Regions from separate parts of the Homo sapiens genome. Here region 1 is linked to region 2. Evidence: promoter capture Hi-C in 16 types of primary human blood cells and fetal thymus (Javierre and others, 2016). All regions are on one chromosome and are shown on one strand. The core of a region is centred on a gene start or on the middle of the fragment in contact, and the rest is flanking DNA. Distances in the headings are between cores, read along the strand shown. Region 1 has its middle 4.2 kb from the start of LRP1. Region 2 holds the start of CTDSP2 (CTD small phosphatase 2).

Region 1 (6,319 bases), core at 1,658-4,157, 720 kb after region 2:
GCAGAAGGCAGGCGCCAGGCGGTTCCCAGGGGCCAGTGAACGTGCTTTTGGTCACTGCCCCCTTCTGGGCGGCGTTTTATGGCTGTTACCTTAGTGTCTGACTTTCTAGGTGTCTGCATGTCAGAGTTCAAGGAGCGGGGCAGACGACGTCGGCTGCCAAAAATTGACGCTGGAGAGGAGGGACTGTTCCCCCTTTTACGTTCTAGTTACGGAAAAGTCCCCACTCCAGTCTGTCCTTGGCAGAAACAGGAGCAGCACGAAGGACTTGCCTCCTAATGACAGTGAGCTCAACCTTTAGCTTCTTCCAGCCGGCTTTGCTCAGCGCGGTGGCCACCTGCCTTTAGTCTCCTGGGCTAGAAACCTCAGACTTTATGCCAACTCAAGGGGGCCTTTCCTTCCTATATCCAATCTTGCCAGCCTGTGCTCCAGGCTTGTCATTTTTTTCCTCTGAAGTATATCTCAGATTTCCTCCATTTCCACTGCCAGAGAGTTGCTCCAGGCAGGAACGGGGTCTTATTTCTCCTTTTATCCAGCTCCCATGGCCCAACACAATGTGAGACGCACTATGCGGACTCACCAAATGCCTACGAGGTTCCTCCCAGGGCCCCTCCCAGTATTGGGATCCAAGTGAAATCAGGTCGAAACAGACTTTAGACAGCTTGACAGCTTTGAGAGGAAAACGGTATCTGGAGCAACCACATGTAGCCTGAGGGCTTGAAGGGGCTTTCCTCCCTCCCCCTACCCATCTGTCAGGTGAATCTTCCAAAAACTGCTTTCCCGGTGTCTCTTCCTTGCTGGGGAACCTCTAGTGGGTGTCTATAGACCAGTCAAATGTGAACTCCTCTTCAGTCATGGCTTTCCAAAACCTGGCCTCAGTCAGCATGCACTTCTCACTTGCAACCTCCCATCCCCTGCTGTCTCCTGAATGTGAATGTGTATTTTTATTAACTTTATATTGTTAAAAAAAAAAGAAAGAAAGAAAAGATAATACCTAGTGGTTAAAAAAAGTACAGGAAGGTAAAAAGTAAAAGGAAACTTGATGCTCTCCACACCCCCATTTTTCAGCTGCACCCTCAGAGTAACTTCTACTAACAGTTCTTCAGGTCTCCCCTACCAGCAGAGGTTTCCCCCCCGCCCAAGACGGAGTCTTGCCCCGTTGCCCAGGTTGGAGTGCAGTGGCCTAATCTCGGCTCACTACAACCTCTGCCTCCCGGGTTCGGCGATTCTTCTGCCTTGACCTCCCAAGTAGCTGGGATTACAGGCACACGCCACTATACCCAGCTAATTTTTTTTGTATTTTTGGTAGAGATGGGGTTTCACGATGTTGGCTAGGCTGGTCTCGAACTTCTGACCACGTGATCTGGCCTCCTCAGCCTCCCAAAGTGCTGGGATTACAGGCGTGAGCCACCGTGCCCGGCCAGGAGAGTTTTTAAAACAGTAACATACAGGCCAGGCGTGGTGGCTCATGCCTGTAATCCCAACACTTTGGGAGACGAAGGTGGGAGGATCACTTTTCAGGAGTTCGAGACCACACTGGCCAACATGGCGGAACCCCATATCTACTAAAAATACAAAAATGAGCCACGTATCGTGACGCATACCTGTAATCCCAGCTACTGGGGAGGCTGAGGCACGAGAATCGCTTGAACCCAGGAGGTGGAGGTTGTGGTGAGCCGAGATCGTGCCACTGCACTCCAGCCTGAGCAACAGAGGGAGACCCTGTCTCAAATAAATAAATAAATAAAACAGTAACATACAAATATAAGTGAATATCCTTTAAAACTATAAAGAAACTCATATGATATATAGTGTTCTGTAACTTGCCTTTTTTTCAATTAACTTAGCTTGATCCCTTTCCATACCGTATGAACGCATTTAGCTCACCCTTTGATCTTGGCTACTTGGAATCTCCTTGCTTGGATGTTCCACAGTTTGTTGGGATTGTTGGGCACTTGGGTTATTTCCAGCAGGTGAACTGCTGAGGGTATGTCTGTAAGGTGAGAGAATGCATATTTATGTCTTTCTTTCTTTCTTTCTTTCTTTTTTTTTTTTGAGATGGAGTTGCACTCTTGTTGCCCAGGCTGGAGTGCAGTGGTGTGATCTCAGCTCACTGCAACCTCCACCTCCCAGGTTCAAGCGATTCTCCTGCCTCAGCCTCCCGAATAGTTGAGATTACAGGCACCCACCACCATGCCTGGCTCATTTTTGTGTTTTTAGTAGAGATGGGATTTCTCCATGTTGGCCAGGCTGGTCTTAAACTCCTGACCTCAGGTGATCCATGCACCTTGGCCTCCCAAAGTGCTGTGATTACAGGTGTGAGCCACCTCACCCTGCTGAGAATGCATATTTCTATCTGAGCCATTAATGATACAGTTCCCCTGCTCCTCTACCCTCCTCAGAAAAGCCCTCCTGTTATTCTCGCTCTGCCTATCTCTCCTGTTCCAAACTTGTATTCAGGAAAGCTTCAGTATCCAGAGTTTAGCACTTTATTTTGTGGGCTCTGTATCCACCACTAGACTATATACTCCTTGAGGGCAGGGACCATGTCTTTTTCTTCTTCGTTTCCACCCAGCGTGAGAGGCTCTTGATTGGTGAAAGGAATGTTAGGACTAGAGTTGCCTTTCCTGGAACAGGATGTGACTTCAAGCATCTTCTTCCCTCTATTTCTCTTATAGCATTCATTGTTTAATCCTCTCTGCCTCAGTGCCTTCTCTTCCTCCCCACATCTGTTCTTAAGAGGCATCTTCAAATCCTTGGGTTGAGATTATAACCATAATAGTAGGGAATCATGGAGGAATTCTCTGAAATTCATGATTGATACCTGGAATGGTGATGAGGGCAAAGAAGCTAGTGTGGGTAAAGGGCATCTCTTTTTTCGGGTCGCTCAGCAAATTACAAAATACCCGCCTTTTCTGAGTATAGCAGGGCCTGGGCTGGGGCGTTAATTGGGTAGCTCTGGAACTGAATGTCAAGCCAGAGGCTAGCACCACCTAGTGGTCAGTTAAGGAAGTGTGCGTAGGAAGGGTATCCCGGAAAGGTCTGATGGCAGGCGGAGAGAGGGAAAAGGACCAGTATTTATTGAGCGCATACCATGTCCCAGGCCCACGCAGTGGACTTTATTTACAGTATCAGCTCACTTAAGTCTACCTTTTGTCATGGGTGTTATTTCCAGTGTGTATAAGAAAATAGAATGTTCTGAGAGATTAAAGAATCTGTCCCAAATAATGGTGCAGATCCAAGCCCAGATTTCATTCACTTAATAAAAATATTAGGTACCTCGTATAAGCAAGTACATTGCTAGGCACTAGGGATAAGAGACGGAAACACACAGTCTCAGCCTTCAAGAAGCTTTCAGGTTAGCTGGGTGCTCAACAAGAGACAGACAATGACAATACAGTCAGTTCCTTAACACCTGTGATGAAGGCATGTGCAGAAGGGCATGGGAACATGGGAAGGATACCTCTTCCAGACAAGGTGGTCAAGACAGAGAGCAGCAGATGATGCCAGGCTAAATGTTGAATGAGAGGAAGAAAATGACAACCAATAACAAAAGGAAAGGGTGTTTTAGGCTGGATGGCAGGAAAGGCATTGGAGGCATGAGAAGTTTAAAACATGTGAAGAACATCAAATATGGTATCATAGCTGAAGTTTAAGGTACTTTGAGGGGAGAGTGTTGGATGAAGTATCAGAAAGCCTAATCACAAAGCGTGATTTTAGCCACAGTAAGGACTTAGAATTTTTTTTCTAGAAGTAGTGTAGAGCCAGTTGAGAAATTGGTGAAGTCCTTAATGCATGAGTGATGGAGCTGGAGAGGAAGAGGATTCAGAAACAATAAAGAAGTAGGATCTAGTATACTAACCAGTTAACTGTATAGGCCTGAAGATAGTGACAGAGAAATCTGAGTCTAGAAAATTTGGCTCACATTAGAATCACCTGGAGAGTTTTTAAAAATCCCAGTGCTGTGGTGGCATGCATCTGTAGGCCCAGCTACTCAGGAGACTAAGGTGGGAGGATTGCTTGAGCTCAGGAGGTTGAGGCTGCAGTGAACCTGATCACTGCATGATCATGCCACTGCACTCCAGCCTGGGTAACAGAGTGCAACCCTGTCTCAAAAAGAAAAATAAATGAATCAATGCTGGAGGATTTATGCTACTTGATTTCAAGACTTGTAAGTGACAGTAATCAAGACTATGTGGTGCTAGCATGAGAATTGACAAACAGATCCATGGAGCAGAATAGAGAACCAGAAATAGACTCACAATCATTTGATTTTTTAATAAAAATTCTATATGCGTTTATTATTTTATAATGTTACTTTTATATACTTTTATCTTGGAATTATTTTTCGTTTGATTAGTTTTCTATGCATCTATCATTTTCCCCAAATATCTCAACATAATTTTAAAAAATCAGATAGTTGTTTGATTTCTTATTGCAATTCCTTTGTGTTTACCACCCCTCCACCCTGCTCATCCCTATCTCACCCTGTGCAACTTCTGCATTCTTGCTTCAATGTTGACTAGGCACAGGCTTCGTTTTTCTTTTTGAGACAGAGTTTTGCTCTGTTGCCCAGTCTGGAGTGCAGTGGTATGATCATAGCTCACTGCAGCCTCAACCTCCTGGGCTTAAACTATTTTCCCCTGTCAACTTCCCAAGTAGCTGGGACTACAGACACATGCCACCATGCCTGGCTTCAGCATCCATTCTTAAACTCCTTTTCACCATTGATCTGGGATTTTACTCTTAGCTGGAACCTGTCTGAGACCCGACTATTGGAGGTCTCTTACTGCTGGAGGATGGTATCTCTGGGAAAGGCCCACTCCCAGACCCAGGAATGTAGGATCCATCTCAGTGCAGCTTTTCTCAGCTCTCTACTTGTCTGGGGTACCACACTTCTCAACCGGATTCTGTACTTCTCATAAAGGTATTTTGATCAGTAAATTGTTAAATCTGTGTTTCTGTGAGGGGATGAGAGGCGGGACTTCGTATTGCACCAACTGGCTGATCCCACTGTAAAGGTCATTTGATTTTGGCAAAGATGTCAAAGCCAGCCAGTGGAGAAAGGAATGTCTGTTCAATAAATAGTTATGGAACAACTTCATATCTATATGGGAGAAATAAATGAACCTTGACCCCTACCTCACACCATATGCAAAAATTAATTCAAGATTGATTATAGGCTGGGCCCAGTGGCTCACACCTGTAATCCCAGCACTTTGGGAGGCTGAAGCAGTTGAATCACCAGAGGTCAGGAGTTCAAGACCAGCCTGCCCAACATGGTGAAACTCTGTTTCTACTAAAAATACACAATTAACAGGCCAGGCATGGTGGCTCACACCTGTAATCTCAGCACTTTGGGAGGACAAGGCGGGTGGATCATCTGAGCTCAGTTCAAGACCAGCCTGGCCAACATGGCAAAACACTGTCTCTACTAAAAATACAAAAATTAGCTGGGCATGGTGGTGCATGCCTGTAATCCTAGCTACTCAGGAGGCTGAGGCAGGATAATCGCTTGAACCTGAGAGGCGGAGGTTGCAGTGAGCTGAGATCACACCACTGCACTCCAGCCTGAGTGACAGCGAGACTCTGTGTCAAAAAAATTAATTAATTAAAAAAATAAAAATACAAAAATTAGCTGGGTGTGGTGGTGGGCACCTGTAATCCCAGCTACTCAAGAGGCTGAGGCAGGAGAATTGCTTGAACCCAGGAGGTGGAGGGTGGAGTGAGCCGAGATCGCGCCACTGCACTCCAGCCTGGGTGACAGAGCGAGACTCCGTCTAAAAAAAAAGATTGATTATAGACCTAAACCACAAATGCTAAAATCATAAAGCTTTTAGACAAAAACACAGAATATCTTCATAATTTGGAGGAAAGCAACCCCTTCTTAAGCTATAGAAAGCAATAACATAAATTTCTTGATAAGTGAAACATCAAAATAGAAAACTTTTGCTCGTCAGAAGACATCATTATGGAGTAATCCCAGCACTTTGGGAGGCTGACATAGAAGAACTGCTTGAGGCCAGGAGTTTGAGACCAGCCTGGCCAACAAAGCTAGACTCTGTCACTACAAAAAATTTAAAAAATTAGCCGAGTGTGATGGTGTGCACCTGTAGTCCCAGCTACTCCAGAGGCTGAGAAGAGAGGATTGCTTGAGCCCAGGAGTTAGAGGCTGCAGTGAGTTGATTGTGCCACTGCACTCCAGCCTGAGTGACAGTGAGACCCTGACTCAAAAAAAAAAGACATTATTATGAAAATGTGGAAGTAAGCCAAATAGATAGACAAAACATTGATCTGAGAAGGGACAGAGGAATGCGAGATA
Region 2 (6,747 bases), core at 1,682-4,181:
CCTGGCCAACATGGTGAAACCCCATCTCTACTAAAAATAGAAAAATTAGCTGGGCATGGTGGCAGGTGCCTGTAATCCCAGCTACTCAAGAGGCTGAGGCAGGAGAATTGCTTGAACCGGGGAGGCGGAGGTTGCAGTGAGCCAAGATCACGCCACTTCACTCCAGCTGGGGCAACAGAGTGAGACTTCATCTCAACATGTACAAGTCACCTGTTCTGTGTTAGGCACTCTGCTAGGCACAAGAAATCCAGTAAAGAATAAGACATCCCCTAGTCTCAATCCACCTTCTGGTTGGGAAGCCAATAAGCACACAGTTGCAAGATAGGGTGCCAAGTGGTCTGAGAGAGTATGTATGAGGCTATAAAACCCTGACATGAGGGCGGGCATCTGGGAGGGCTTCCAGGAGAGGTGATGCAATTGGAGTTCACAGCAGGAAAAGAGAGCGATAGGTTCTAGTGTCTCCTCCATCCTATAGATAAGAAGGGAACTATGTTAAAGTGTCAAGGGTTCTAGTCTTAAAGTCCAAAGACATCCTGTCTCCTCTTCTTAACAAGCTGTGAGGTCTCAGGTGAGTCAATTAACCTTCCCAGACCAATTCCTCATTTACAAAACAGGCATCTATAAAAATGGGCATAATATCTGCTCTATCAACCTCAAAGAAGTGAGAGATCAAATGAAATAGATAATATATGTGAAAGTACTTTGTAAATTACAAAAGGGGAGGTATTGTCTCTATGGATGAGGAAATGGAAGCATAACGAAGTGAAGTGTCCTGCCCTACAGTGCTATGGGTAGCAGGCCCCTCTAAATCCTCAGTCCTCAGCTCCTGCCTGCATTCCTCCCACTGCAACTAATCTACCTTAGAAGAGGGCAGGGGAAGGGTCTAAAAAGGCCCCCATAGCAACCTGACTATTGAAGATTTACCTTAAAGATCCTATTGTTTTAATGATGGGAGGTGGGTATGTCAGAACTCCTCCGTTTCCCTTTCTGTTAATGAATTAAGATCTACCCAAATTCAGTGTTTAAAGTTACATAAGCATCATTCAGATCTGTAACAGCCACTTTCATTTTGGAAAAACAGCATTTCCATTAAAATGATGTTATATAAAAAGGTTTTGTATACGTGCGTAGGAACAGCAGAAACAGGCACACATGATCACTGTATGGCACACAGGCATATGCAGATCATGACCTCACCTGTCCTCATGAGGAAGGGACCATAGGAAGCAGGTGTCTGATAGTACCTGGCAAGCTTAGCTGTGACCTAGTTGTCCTCTAATCATCAGTAAGACCTGATGCATGTTGGGCAATGGGAACTGCAGCAGGAAGGAAGCCCCTTCCTTGGCAGGGTGAGTGCCACTGAATCACAGAATATTGGGGTTGGATTTAGCTCAGAAGTCACCCAGTGCAATCTCACTCTACACCACTCTTGCCGGCCTTGACTTGAACAGCTACCATTGTCCCAAGGCAGCCCATGTCACCTGTGGACAGATGTAGATCACTGGAAAAGACCTGATATTGAGCTGAAACCAGCCTTTCTGGAGCTACCACCGCTGGGGAACAAAAGCACCCACAACCTTGAGCAGAGACTCCAGGAGCTGTAGCCAGCGGAGCGTGCCCCGAGGCCTAAAGAGCAAGTGGGGAAGGCAGCCTGAGTCCACAAAGCTGAAGCTCCTCCGAGAGACCTCCATCCATCTAAAGGAAGCTGGGACTGTGGGGGCAAAAAGAGAGGGGTAGGATGAGGGAGGTAGGGAGGAGGGGCGGAGTCGGGGCCGCCTAAATGGGAGTAAGTCGGTGGGTGTGAGGAAAGCCCAGCACCTCAGGTCTCATTTTCAGTGTTTTGGGGGACACAGTCCCGAGGTCAGTTCCAGCTCTTATACTCTGGAGTCCTAGGTCCGCCCACACGCACACACCCCTTTCGGGATTCGAAGGTTGTACTTTTTTTTTTTTTTTTTTGAGACAGAGTCTCGCTCTGTCGCCCAGGCTGGAGTGCAGTGGCGCGATCTCGGCTACCTGCAATCTCCGCCTCCCGGGTTCAAGCAAGTCTTTGCCTCAGCCTCCCGAGTAGCTGGGATTACAGGCGCCCGCCACCACGCCCGGCTAATTTTTTTGTATTTTTAGTAGAGACGGGGTTTCACCATCTTGGCCAGGCTGGTCTTGAACTCCTGACCTCGTGATCCACCCACCTCGGCCTTCCAAAGTGCTGGGATTACAGGCGTGAGCCACCGCGCCTGGCCTCGACGGTTGTACTTTTATGTGACTTGGTACGTCCTTGATTCTAGGGCTAAGCAGGGGGGTAAGGTAACTTCCGATCCGCCCCATCCCCTGCTGGAGTCAGGTTAGGCTTAGCGGCTTGTCTTGGTCACCCCTGAAGGGGGAAACCTTTCCACCTTCCCCGAGTGCGCCCTCCGAGAAAAGAACACCCCAGCACAGAGCACCAGAACGTGAGCTTCGGAGCGGCCTTTTAAATAGTTGGGAAGGGGGTGTGGCCGAGGAGACTGGGAGGCCGCAGTCTGGCGCGGGGGGAGTGGCCCGGGGGCGTGGCCGTGGCGCCTGGAATGTTGTTAGGTCCTCTCACCGCATAGTAAGGAGGGGCCACGCCCCTTTTCTCCAAGAGAGCCAATCGGAGCACCGGAACGGTTTCAAGTCTCCCCCGCCAGCCTGCCCGCCCGCCACCCCACCCCCCTTGAGGATTCGCTTTTTCCGTAACAAAATAGCAAAGCTCCCGACTGTCCGCAGCCCCGGCCGCTCACAGATGGAGGGTCCCAGGGCCTAGGACGCAGCCCCCAGCGGGAAGCTCCAGCTGGCCGTGAAGAGGCCGAGTCGAGAGCCGGGAGGCGCGCGGGGGTGGGCGCTGCAGCCGCGGGTTGTTTATCTGGAGTACGGAGGGGAGGGGGGAGCCTGGAAACCGCCCCGTGTCCCATTTCCTCCTCTTGTTTTCGCTCCGGATTCTCCATGTTGGACCCAAACTGAGGAGCCCGGAGCTGCCGCTGGGGGATCGGGGCCGGGGGCACCCGGGGGAGCCGCTGCCCGGGCCGCCCGCCCTTTGTACAGGCCGCCTCCCTTCCCGGTCCGGGGAGGAAACGAGAGGGGGGATGTGAACAGCTGTGGAAGTCGGAGTCTCGGGAGCCGGAGCGGGCCCCCGCCCAGGCCCCCCAGCCCAGCCCAGCCCGCGCGCCCGCCCGTCCTCCCGCCCAGCCAGCCCGGGCCCGCGGGATTGTTAGATGGAACACGGCTCCATCATCACCCAGGCGCGGAGGGAAGACGCCCTGGTGCTCACCAAGCAAGGTAGGGGCAGCAACTTCCCAAAACTTTGCGTCGCCCCCGGGCGCGGAGGGGGCTAGCACAGCCCCGAACCCAGGTCTCGGCCCTTGACCTCCAGGGCTTAGAGCCAGCGATCCCGACTGGACCCCTCCGGTCCATCCGCCCCCGCATCCCGGCTGGCACTCAGACCTCCGTGGGGGTTGCACGGGGATCCCGGCGCCCGAGCGGAAAGGGCGTCTTCGGCGCAGCTGTCACCCTGTCCCGCAACCCCTCCCCCTCGGGGCTGAGAGACGGAGGGGTAGCTCTCGAAGCACTGGGCCACTCCGCGTCCACCGCCTCCGGAGTTGGGGGTGGGGTCGTCACTTTCCTTCACCGCCGCGCGCGGCTGCCCCGGGATCGCGGGGAGGGGTTAGGAAGGTGACAGAGGGAGCCCCAGGTGGAACGGAACCGAGACTGGAGTCCAGCACTTGCAGGCCCCCCCAAGCCCGAGGTCGTTCGGGCAGCTAGCTGGCGGTGACGGCGTCCGGCGGGACTTGGGACCAAGTTCACCTCTTGGAGGCGGGGGCGGTCGCGGTGGGGGAGGGGCCCGGGCCCTGGCGCACCAGACGTGGCGGGTTCCCGGCTCAGCGCAGGCCCCGGGACCTTGGCGGCGTCGGGCTCCCTCCCGGCTGCCTCTGACCAGTTTCGCTGAGCAAACAAGCCCGACCCTGAGGCCCGGCCAGAGCCCCTCCCTGCCCGGTGCGCTCCCCCGGGGCCGGCGCTGCACACACAGAGCCGCGTTTGTTTAGCCCGGGAGCGGTGTCCCTGGTTACATAATTCGCCGGATGGCATCAGACCCGGCGTGGTTCTGAATCGCGCAGCGAAAAAGTGCGAGTTCTCTGTGGGCAGCGGCTGGCGGCCCCCGCCTTCCAGAGCGTCAGGTGGAGGCGCGAGGGGGCCCGCAGGCCCTCGCGGGGGTGAGGCGGAGGCCGAGGCCTCTCCCGGGGCGGGAGAAAGCTGGGGCCCGAGGGTGGAACCTCTTAGTTTGGTCACAGTGGGAGACTCGAAACTCTTTCCCCCTCCGCCACGTTCTTCTTTTGGCCTTGAGGAATGTGTCCAAAATAGCGGCAGATTTTCCGCGGGGTGTAAGGACGAGTGTGGCGTTTCTCTAGAGAGCCCCCCGACCGGGGCCACCTGGCCCCGGAGGCTGGGGCGGGAGCTGGCTCCTGGGGCCGAAGCCGGAGCGCTCCCTCCCCTTCTCCACCGAGCGCGAAGGGCCGGTGCTGCAGTTGAACACACTGAGGCCTAGAGCCTGGTGGGCGGCCAGCTTCGGGGCCTCGTGCGCCCCACGTCTCCCCGTTTGGCAACATTAGTCAGCAGGTCACTAATTCCTGGGGTTCACGTTCCAAGGAGCTCCCCCAACTTCCCTAGGGGCAAATCCGCTGAGTTGGTGGTGTCAGCCTCTCCCAAATTCCCTCAGTGGAACGAGAGGAGCTGGGAGGGGGGAAGGGTGGGGGGAGGGAGGCAGTGTGTTCCTCTTGCATCACTGGCCGGACTTTAAATAAGCCTGCCCTGAGAAGGGATGGCCTTGCCTACTCAGATCCCAACCCCCGAGAAGGCTCCGGCCTCCCTGACCTCGGTGTTGCCATGATTTCTGCTCTCCTGGCTGCATCACTAACCAGGCTGTGACCCAGGCAGCAACTTCACCGCCTCTGCTGGCTGCTCAACTGTGCTGATGGCTGAAAAAGGAAGGGAGCCTGCGTGTGTTTATAGCTCACTCCTGACTCTTCCCACTCCCTTTTTATCCCAGGAAAAGACCCTAAGAGCTAGCCAGAGGGGAAGAAACCTAGATGTGGGGGGATTCAAGAGGGGGCAGTGGTGATGAGTAGGGGGAGGAGCCCTGTGCTTCCCCACTAGGTCTTCCTCTCTTGCAGGGACTCTCTTGCAGGGAGTGTGCCTTGGGCATCGTGGGGCCACGCGAGGAGTAAGGGAAAGCTGGACTGCGCCGGGGCATCTTAGAAATCAGAGCTGGAAGTTTCATCCACCAGGGTGAATGGCAGGCTACAGAATAGATAACAGCAGAAAGCAAAGCAACTGGCTTGACAGTGTTAAGTTGCTGGTGTTGGATTTTCTTGGAGTTAATGTTTCTCCTTTTTTGTGTGTGTGGTTTAAGCCAGCAGCCACTGGGTCTCTCCCTCCCCATGTAATTTTTTATTTTAATTGAGATGGAGTCTTACTCTGTTGCCCAGGCTAGAGTGCAGTGGCGCAATCTCAGCTCACTGCAACCTCCGCCTCCTAAATTCAAGCAATTCTCCTGCCTCAGCCTCCCAAGTAGCTGGGATTACAGGCGCGCGCCATCACGCTTGGCTAATTTTTTTGTATTTTTTAGTAGAGACAGGGGTTTCGCCAGTTGCCCAGGCTGGTCTCGACTCCTGAGGTGATCAGCCCCCTTCGGCCTCCCAAAGTGCTGGGATTACAGGCGTGAGCCACCGCGCCCGGCCCCTCCCCATGTAATTTGATTGCATTCCAGAGAAGACAGACTTTCTTCCTGGGCTGCTTAGGCACCCAGCAACCACTAAACCAACTTTCTGAGTCCCACATCATTTACAAACAAAACCTACGTCTTCAAAACAAAACAAAAAACAAAAGCTGGGGGACTGGGGAAGCAGATGTTTTAATTGGCTCCTTTTGGAGTTCCTTCTTCTCCCCACTCCGTCCTCTCCACAACATCCCATCTCCATGCCTTGCCTGCCTTTGGAAAAAGGGGAAGAAGGAGTGTGAGGTACTTATTATTAATAAGTAAATTTCTGGAAAGAAACAAATTGCTCCTAGCTTGGGTGGCTATTTAGTGAAGTTACTTGCCATTGCGGGTTTTTTTTTTCTTTTTTTAGCATTCTGTTCTCTGAGGTTTAAGGCTGTCTGGGTGCGTTGATGATTCAAAAGTAATTACAGTAGGGGAAGTAGAACAAAGTTGCTGAAAGCATTGATGATAAAAGCACCAAAATTGGATCATCTTCCCAGACAGATGGGTGAAATGGCTTTCTGGTACAGCAAGGACAGGATTGTGTGTAACATCAAAAAGAAAAAAGAAATGTTAATATCAGCTTGGCAAGAATGGCTGTTGATTGCAGCTCTATATGAGATTGTCACCCCATTGCTAAGAGGTTGTGACCTTGGCTTTGGGATTAGATGGGGGAAAGCCAAGGAAACAAGACCCACGCTGTAACCTCCCAACGTGAAATGAGACCTGGTGGAGGCAGCCTCTTCCGGAGCTCAGTGACCCACACGCCTTTTGGAGGAATCAGAGATTTTTTTGTTGTCCATGAATCCTGATGCCCCTTCCTCTCGATGATGCCCTGGATTACCTTCTCACATGCCGAACTGGACAGGTTCTGATAGCTAATTGCAAGGATTCTTCTGAGAGACTGACCATCTCTGAAAATTACGATGTGGCAAGTTTTCAGGATGGCTAGCTCTTTTGTTATCCGCATAAGGGAGAAATTC

What was found. Contacts are between HindIII fragments. The CHiCAGO score rates a contact against its expected background, and 5 or more counts as called.
Region 1: a contact is called between a fragment that was not itself captured here and the fragment with the promoter of CTDSP2 in region 2, in 1 of 17 cell types (non-activated CD4 T cells). The highest score is 5.7, in non-activated CD4 T cells.

What each region holds. Positions count from the first base shown.
Region 1 is chr12:57,121,124-57,127,442 of GRCh38, reverse strand. No RefSeq gene overlaps it. Among named protein-coding and RNA genes, the nearest start is that of LRP1, 4.2 kb to the left of the region's middle. The HindIII fragment of the contact is 886 bases long and covers 2,465-3,350 here.
Region 2 is chr12:57,842,913-57,849,659 of GRCh38, reverse strand. It overlaps CTDSP2 (CTD small phosphatase 2), which reads left to right and starts at 2,931. Exons shown (of 8, transcript NM_005730.4): 1 at 2,931-3,288. The coding sequence starts at 3,225. CTDSP2-AS1 (CTDSP2 antisense RNA 1) reads right to left here. Exons shown (of 2, transcript NR_188077.1): 2 at 5,899-6,747. RefSeq lists silencers at 2,450-2,629, 2,700-2,779, 2,790-3,219, 3,810-4,109, 4,440-4,489. The HindIII fragment of the contact is 5,566 bases long and covers 1,255-6,747 here.